Regions from separate parts of the Homo sapiens genome. Here region 1 is linked to region 2. Evidence: promoter capture Hi-C in human tissues and cell types (Jung and others, 2019). All regions are on one chromosome and are shown on one strand. The core of a region is centred on a gene start or on the middle of the fragment in contact, and the rest is flanking DNA. Distances in the headings are between cores, read along the strand shown.

Region 1 (4,646 bases), core at 1,143-3,642, 1.3 Mb after region 2:
GCCTGCTCCACTCATTCACAGGCCTGGGCTGGTTTGCATTTACCTTGGCCCCATGGACTAGAGAGAAGATGACCAGCTGTCAACATAGCTGTTGAGGGACAATCTCTGGGCACTGGCAGAACTACGAGTGACCTCTGTGTCCAAACAGAGAATGCCTCTGGGGAGGAGACCATTTGTCCCCTACATAATGAGCTCCAGTGTAAAATCCAGCATGGCTCAGGTATGCTGAGCGTTGGAAACTTTGGAAGCTTCTGGAAACAGTAGGCTAGAAATGAGCACTGACAACTCAAAATGCGTACCTGCAAGGGAAGCTGAGTGAGTTTCTCCAAGTGTTGTCAGGGGGATGCCTGCGGCCACATGGTAGCCAGACAGAGAAAAGAACAGGGAAGACAGCACACACGGGGACCACAGAAAATACTGTATGTGTTCTGGGGGTCCGAGTGGGAGTTTAAAACTGTCATTCAGGTGGGAGGCTTAAGTTCTTGAAATTTAAATATTAGAATAAAGGCAATGCCTGGACATACCAGATGCATATTAAAAGTTTTCTAAACTATACATATTTTTAACCTAGAAATTCTACTTTTAGTATTTTTATCCTAAAAAAGTTCATGGATGTGTATAGAGATTGTATTGAAATATATTATTTTAATACAATTATATAAATAATATATCATAAAATTATGCATGATATATAATATAAATTATAAAATGATTATTATTGAATAACAATTATATAAGTATAATGTTAATTGTAACTTATAATGACAAAGAACTGGCAACTCTTAGGATCTGCAACTGAAGAACATTGTTTCAATAAATTGTAACATCCATACAACAAATTTCAAGTAGCCACTAAAATACTACCAGGAAGTTATTTAAGGTTATTTCAAAGCATGTTACAAAAATAATATGCATGGTATAATGCCATTTTTATTTAATATATAAACACACATAGGGAAATATTTAAGTTTATACATTATATTAGTTTCCTGGGGCTCCTGGAACCATTTTCTGCAAATATTGTGGCTTAAAACAACAGAGTTAATTTTCTGACAGTTATGAGGACAGGAGTTTAGCAGTTTCACTGGGCCAAAATCAAAGTATGGGCAGGGCTGCACTCTCTCTGAAGGCTCTAGGAGATAACCCTTCCTTGCCTCTTCCAGCTTCTGTGGTTCTGGCGTCCTTGGCTTGTAGCTGCATCACTCCAATCTCTGCCTCTGTCTCTTCGTGTGTCTGATCTCCCTTAGTCTCTCTCTTATAAGGACCCTTGTGCTTGGATTTAATACCCACCAGGAAAATCCCTCATGTCAAAATCATTAACTTCATCACATCTGTAAGTCGCTTTTACATTGTAAGGTCACATTTATAGGTTTCAAGGACTCAGACCTGTTATTTTTGGAGCATCATTATTTCATCTGCTGTTTTCCTAATCATTAAAAGATATGTTTTTCTTATGTCTTTCTGTTCTTTCTTAGAGTAAGTATTGGGTAACTTTAGTAAGGGGGATTTATTTTAAGTAGATTATACCAGACAAAGTATGAATTTCTACTTTGTACACGACCTCGTATTTCTGCCTAAGAGCCAAAAAAGAAATAAACAAAAGTACCAACATGAAAACTGTATTTTCCCTTTAGAGTATTAAAAACCTTGTTCAATATTCAAGACTTTAAACTATGTTTAAAAAATAGAGGCATACGATATGATTGATTTTTATCAAATACTAGGTTGGATATTATAGAACAAATATATAATTTAGAAAAATCCAAGAAAAAAACAGAGATGAAGATGCCCTAACAGATGACTCTACCTGCCAAAAAAAGGAGGAGAGATGTGTATAATGTGCAAGAAAAAAAGTATCTATTTGATAGGTAAGTGTGCTTTCAAATTCTGAAAGGTCTTTAATATTAGGAAAAAGATTTTTACCAAAAATGGAATTTTCCACTAAAAAACAGGAACTAAAATAAGTATCCATTTCAATTCTGAAAAGTGAATGATGAAGAAGGCAAGTCAGAAATTCATTTTAGATGACGAATATGTTACATTTCCAAAAAGAAGGTAAGACACTAGAACAGAGGAAGGTAAAAGAGGAAGTCCCCACTTGTTTCCTTATTACGTGTTAGTTTCTGAGTTAGATGTAAGGGGAGATATATGTTTTGGACAGGTTTCTTGTCCTCAAAAATGTGTAGTTCAGTAAGAAAGATATGATTAAGCCGTGTTGAGGTGAAGCGCTATGCAAATGCAATCAGTGACAAGAGAGGCACAAACCAGTTCCTCCAGAACTGGGGGTGGCCAAGCTTCCCCTTGAAATGCAGGGTTTGCAGGATAGATGAAGCTGAGTGAAGAAGACAGGTGAGTAGTCCATTTCTGAAAAAACTGGAAGGAATTGAGATGGAAAAGTAATAATGTAATACCTAACATTTATCCAGTCATATGCCAGATATGGGGCTAAGATTTTTTTTTTTTAATCCATTATCAGGGAGAAAAAACGTTTCCTCTATTCTCTTAAGTTTGGTAACTGAGAGCCTGTGAATTAAACTAACAAAAGATAGATTAACAGGGGGAAGGGTACACAATTTTTCTTGATATTTACATGCACAAGAGTTCCCAGAAAAAGAGTGAAACTCAAAGAAGCAGACTCAGGGGCTTATACAGCCGTTCAACAAAGGGAAAAGAGTTTGGGTCTCAAGGTATGATAAATAGTGGGGAAGTGACTAGGAAATCCAGTGACTCAGGGAAGATAAGGGTTATTTTAGTAAGGTCGCTTGTGCAAACACATGTTGGCATCAACTCCCTTTCTTCAATGAAAAGAGTCACTCTTCCCTCCTTGTGTAGGAGGTGAGGTCCTCCTCAAAGAGAAACTAAAACTGTATGCCTTGTCTTTAGGCTGTTAATGGTGGGTTGAGGAACTCTTCCTGCACCTGCTGATTCTCAACTGCCTTTAGCCCCAAATAATCTTTATGCCAAAGTGGCATAGTTTAGAGTGGCATCTTCTGATCCCCATCACAATAAACAGGTGTAATACTGATACGACTATGAGACAGGCATAATTGTTGCGTCTTTTCTTAGGTGGGGAAACTGAGGATCTTATGTCCTAGCCAGCATGCCTGACAAAGAGGTAGGTGCTCATGTTGTCAGAAAAGGAGGGCAAGTGGTGTTGGTGTCGCTCAGGCAATTTCAATATGACAAACTGGAAAACTTCTAAATGCACCGTCCTCACTTGTTTCAAGTTTCAGAGGAACCAGGTGGATCCCCCATTCTTTAACTGGTTCCTTTTTCCTTTCAAGTTCAAAAACACTCAAGGAATACTTTAATAAATCAATAAAGTGAACACAGCAAGTGAGGAATGGCAAGAAACAAGAGAAAATGTTCAAGAGGACCGTAACGATGAGAGGAAATTAAAGTAAGTTTACTCAGATGCTTTCATGTAACCGCACTTATTAAAAAAGAAGAAAAAAAGTCTTATAAAGTTGTATAAAAATAGAGTAGCAGAATAATAATAGCCCTAACTATAATTTCTGATACTATGTAGACTGGGGAAAAACATAACCCAATAGCCTAAGGAGAAAAGAAAGAAAATATGTTTGCTCAAAGAAAACAAACACAGACATATAAACCTACACCCCTGATGGCTGAACTTCATAGAACTAAGAAGTCAATAGGAAGAAAGTGCAGACAAGCAGGAAGCTCATTAGATTAGAAATCAAGTTCATGTTCTAGCACTGATGGCCAGCTGACCAGGGCAATTCACAAGCAGTTCAAGTTCAGGGACCAAAGCGCCCCTGAGTGCCTCCATTGGATTCTGCACAGCCAAAAAGACGCTTGAAAACATCAAGCCCTGTCACCAGTACCTTCTATAAGCCTTGAGAGAGGTGTGATGATATAACAGGGAATCAGAGAAGCCTAAACCTGTACCTGCTTTGGGAAACCCATGTAATGCCTTCGCCTGATTCATTATTATTTGAGAACCTACAAGGCCCCTGTGTTCACAACTCTAGGAAGATGCAAGACTCTAGGTATCATGGCTCTTGCCTTTAGAAGCATTTTGCTAGTTTTCTATTGCTCTGTAGCACGCTTCCACACACTCAGCAGCTTTAAACAATCCCTTTATCTGTTCACAGCTCTGTAGATTAGAAGTCTGTGACTGGGTTCTCCATAGTGTCTCAGGAGGCTGACATTAAGGTGTTAGCCAACTGGGTTTTCCTCTGGAGACTGGGGGAAAATCTGTTTTCACACTTATTCAGGGTGTTGTCAGAATTCATTTCTTTGAGGCTGTAGGACGGACATTCCCACTGCCTTTCTTGTTGTCCGCTGTGGGCCACCCTCAGCCTGTAGAGGCCACCCACATTCCTTACTACACAGCCCCCTCCATTTCTAAAACAAGCAATCAAGAAGTCTCCCTCATGTTGAATGTCTGTCACGCTGTGAATCTCTCTCATGAGGAAGATCCCAGCAGCTGATCTGAGACCTGAATTACATCTACAGAATCCCTTGACAGGAGCGGCTAGATATGTGCTGGGCCACACACCAGCAGGCAGAAATCGTGGGAGCCGTATTGAAATTCTGCTTGCCATAAGCATCGGAAAACTATTTACTAAGTGTTGAATAAATGAGAAAAGAAATGAAAACTTCTGGCCCCTCACTGGAAT
Region 2 (4,407 bases), core at 1,832-4,331:
ATGGCACGATCTTGGCTCACTGCAACCTCTGCCTCCCAGGTTCAAGCGATTCTCCTGTCTCAGCCTCCCAAGTAGCTGGGATTACAGGCACGTGCCATCATGCCCGGCTAATTTTGTATTTTTAGTAAAGACGGGGTTTCTCCATGTTGGTCAGGCTGGTCTCAAACTCCCGACCTCAGGTGATCCGCCCGCCTTGGCCTCCCAAAGTGCTGGGATCATAGGCGTGAGCCACCGTACCCGGCCGCTTCTGTGCTTGTTAAAAAAAGGTTGAAGGGGGAAAATCACAGTAGCTGCCCTCTCTCTGCTTTTAAGAAATGGAATGAGTCTGTGGGTGGCTACCAGACTGGGAGGGCTTGGGGATGCTGACTCTGTGGTGAGGTATTACGCAGTCAGGTTAATTTCCTTATACCACTTGTCAAGTTAGAAGGAGTAGAGAAGATGCCAGGTCTTCACTCATCCCTGGGCATTAAGGGAAAACTAAAGAGCTTCCAAGAGGAAATGCTCTGAGTTGAAGTCAGCTCATTGCGCCGCCTCAGTGTTTGACTTGGCATATTACTACGGGGTCTTTATTTTCTCATTACTAAACTGGGTCATGTAATTGACAAGACAGGGGACAGTCGGGGTGGGACCATTCTAGAAAATCTGTAACTGACTTTTTTTTTTTTAATGGAGTCTCGCTCTGTCGTCCAGGCTGGAGTGCAGTGGCGCGATTTCGGCTCACTGCAACCTCCGCCTCCTGGGTTCAAGCGATTCTTCTGCCTCAGCCTCCCGAGTAGCCGGGACTACAGGCAAGTGCCACCGCACCCAGCTGATTTTTGTATTTTTATTAGAGACAGGATTTCACGATGTTGCCCAGGCTGGTCTCAAACTCCTGACCTTAGGTGATCCACCCGCCTCAGCCTCCCAAAGTATTGGGATTACGGGCGTGGGCCACTGCACCCAGCCTGTAACTCACTTCTGAAGGTCCAGAAATTCCTTGTTTCCTTCTGTTATTTATAGTACGCTACTTATTTAAACCAAACATGAAGTTAATTGACACTTAGCCAGGCAATTTGGATTACCTGTGTGGCTTCACACAGGTATGGGTTGTAGACAAGTCTAAAAATAGAAAATGTTAAAATCCAGCTATCTCAGAAAAACTTGGGTTCATCTCCATCTCCTACCTCCCATATGTCACAAATAGACGCATGGGATGTGAAATGGTAACCTCTGGGTAAGGTGACAAAGGTACTCTAATCTTGGCTTACGTGGACTACACGGTTAATCCACTGAATAACAATCAGCATCTTCATCTGTGTGGTAGGAGAACCGGAGGTCAGAAGGGTAGAGGGGCGGCTAAAAGTACTTTGTTTCTATTACTGTATGACCTTGGACTAGTTACAAAACTTTTTGTGCCTACATTTCCTAATCCCTAATATGGGGTTAACAGTGCTTGCCTCTGTTTAAAAAAATTACTCAGTGATGCTTACTAAAGCATGGTAAGAAAGACTTTATTCAGGACCAACGCGATGGGTACAGGGATCAGGGAAACCCGGGGAGAGAGAGTGGGCTCCAATTCTGAATGCAGCGTCGGCAAGTAGAAATTTATGGCCATGTAAAATCACTAAGAGTAACCATCGGGGGAAGAGGGATTCTGGCTCAACCGATCTAAAGGATTCTTGTAGAACTCAGGCCAGGGTGAAAAGACATGACTGGGGGATAGAGGAAGATGAGGAACCTGATCTGCTATGAGGGGATGGGGGTTCTGTGCTAGAACTGGATTTTACAAGGAAGTGCACAGATGGGCCTAGCATGAGATTCAGAAGCCTGACTAAAGTTTGGCCAAGCAAAGAATCTTTGTCACCTCAGGGCTGTTGTGAGAATTTTAGGAGACACATCCACCAGCCTTGGCATGGGGCCTGATGCAGAGTAAGTGTTCACTAAACTTTACCTATTAACGTTAAAGCACTTTAAGTTGACAAACACTCCACGTACAGAGCTTTTAATGGGGCAAACAAGGGGCAGAGGCCTCAGCTGCAGGGTACTCAACCTCTAAGGAAGGGCGCTGGAGAAAACTGCACTTGCAGAGCCCCTGGCTGGAGGGCGGAGAACCATGTGGGTGTAAAGGGATGGCAAGGGCAGAACGTATGCCCCTGCCCACCTTAGACAGTTGCTAAAGGGTCTCCCAGGCACTCAGCCTAGCCTTTAAGTGAAAGCGGAGGAAACATTTAAAGAAATGAGATAGAGTTAAGGTGTTCGCCTGCCCTCCGCTGAAACACGTGGGGGCAGGTCAGGGGCACACCACAAATGCCCGTATCGCGCCTGTGTGTACCAGGCACCGTCCTCGGAGGTTAACGTGCAGTAACTCACTCGGGTCCCCACTTTCGGCACAGGCAGCAGGCCCAAGGTCACGCAGTGCCAAGGGACTGAGTCAGACCCGAGCCCGCGCGCCGCGGCCCACGGCCTGTGCCAGCGCGCTCCTCGCCGGGTAGGGGGCCTGGTCAGCCGCGTCAGACCTGAGAGTTGTGGCTGGGGGCGAGAGCTGCACCCCCCTACCGACCCCGGGCGGGAATGTTCCAGAACCCCTGCGAGCAGCCGTTGGCCGCACAGCCCCCGGGCCGGCCGCGACCCCGCCTTGCGCCGCGAAGGTCCCTAGCTCCGGGGAGTCGCGGGCGAGGGGCACGCGCACGGACGAGACCGCACCGCAGCGCACGCGCACTGGCGGGCACTCACTCGCCCGCCGCCCGGGAGGAGAAGGAAGGCATGGAAAGTTCCAGCCGGTTCGAGAGCTAGGTAGCAGGCATGGCAGGAGGCGGGGTAGGGGCAGGCAGGGTCGCGAGGGGGCGTGCGGCCGCCGCGAGCCGCTCTGGGCCGCGTCTGCAGCACCGCCCCTAGCCGCGGCCGGCGGGCTGGGCTGGGGTCGGGGCGGGGGCGGTGCGGCGGGTGCGGGGCTGCGGAGGGGGCGTGGCGGCCGCCCGCGGGCGGAGAGGGGGCGGGGCGGCGGCAAGGCGCGCGGGCGGGGCGGGGCGCGCCGAGGGGGCGTGGCGCGGCGTCTGCGCAGCTGCCAGCGCCTTTAAGCCCGGGCTCGCGCTCTCGGACCGTGCTTTCGCCGCCTGGGAGCCGTCCGGCGCAGCAGTTTCTAGGTCCCCACTGTCCCCGCCGTCCCGCCCCTTCGCGTCCCGGGAACCGGCTGGCTTCCGAGCCGCACTCGCCGATCCTCCAGGCATGCCCCGCTACGAGCTGGCTTTAATCCTGAAAGCCATGCAGCGGGTAAGTGACCTTCCCTCAGAGCCGGTCTTCCCGCGCGGGCGCCCCCGCTGCCGCTAGGCCGCCGTCCCCCGCGCGCCCTGGCCGCGGGACCCCGGGCCTTCCTGCACTCCTCGGAGGAGGCCGGGGCGGCGGGCGGGCGGCGGGCGTCCGCGGGAAGGGGGCGCGCGTGGGCCGGCCGGGCCCGGCCGCGTGCGCGCGGGAGGCGGGGGTGTGCCTGCGCGTGTGCGCGGTCCGGGAGGGTGTGCCTCGCAAGCGGCCCGCCGGGCGGGGGGCGGGGCGGACCGAGCGGGCCCCGACCCCGATCCCGGCGCCGGCCCGCGGGAGTCCAGTGGAAGGTCCGCGGGAGGACACGCGCGGGCGCCCAGCCCGACTCCGGCCCGTCCCCGCCAGTCGTGAAGCTGCCTCGTCGCCGGCCCCGCCGCCGCCGCCTGGTCCGTCCCGCTCCGCCGCCCGCCGGCTGCCGCCGACCGCCTCCGCTCTAGCGCCCGCCGGCCGCCCGGAACGTCCGCGCCCAATAAAGCGTTCCTCCAAAGCTTGTTTGTGCCGTTGTCTGTATTCCAGTCTCTTGCAATCGCTCTCATGTTAAAAAAAAATCTTTTGACTTTTCTTTTTCTGACTTCAGCGAAAATCCCGCTCCGGGTGCCCTTAGCCCAGTTTCATTCATCCAAGTTGTGGCCTTTCTTGCGCCTCCAGAAGACACTTTCTTCCCCCTGCTTTTGATTGATCTTGAGGTAGGGGATTTCAGGTTTGGAGGGATGCTAAGCGAACCAGCGGCCCCTTTCAGGTGACGGCGTGGCCAAGGACAGGGGCCCGCGGCCCGGAGGCAGCTCACTTCGTCCTCTGTCCTGGGTCATGTACTCCTCAAGTCGTCGCCGAAATCCCCATTCTCCCGTGAATTCGGAATTCGGTAACGTAGTTTGGTGTTATGTTTTTTTTTCTCCACCAGGTGTAATAAAACAAAAATCATTGTACCACGTCCGAACTTTGTAAGCACAGCTTCCTACAGCGCTAGAGGAGTGGACGCATTTTTACGTTTGAAATTAGGCTCCAGGTCAATTGCGAGGAGTATTACCAAGTTTGGTTGAACTTAAGCTCAATTGATAAACTAACAATCACGGAGCGTCGGGAGATTGTTAGGAAGTGTGCTTTGCATATTGT

What was found. Contacts are between HindIII fragments. The study calls those that stand out against the background at their distance.
Region 1: a fragment that was not itself captured here is called in contact with the fragment with the promoter of MRPS6 in region 2 in 1 of the 25 tissues and cell types used here (lymphoblastoid cells).

The regions. Positions count from the first base shown.
Region 1 is chr21:35,340,453-35,345,098 of GRCh38, forward strand. No RefSeq gene overlaps it. Among named protein-coding and RNA genes, the nearest start is that of RUNX1, 290 kb to the left of the region's middle. The HindIII fragment of the contact is 7,034 bases long and covers 1-4,646 here.
Region 2 is chr21:34,070,497-34,074,903 of GRCh38, forward strand. It overlaps MRPS6 (mitochondrial ribosomal protein S6), which reads left to right and starts at 3,082. Exons shown (of 3, transcript NM_032476.4): 1 at 3,082-3,249. The coding sequence starts at 3,205. It overlaps SLC5A3 (solute carrier family 5 member 3), which reads left to right and starts at 3,082. Exons shown (of 2, transcript NM_006933.7): 1 at 3,082-3,249. RefSeq lists silencers at 2,530-3,049, 3,340-3,739 and an enhancer at 2,993-3,943. The HindIII fragment of the contact is 15,607 bases long and covers 1-4,407 here.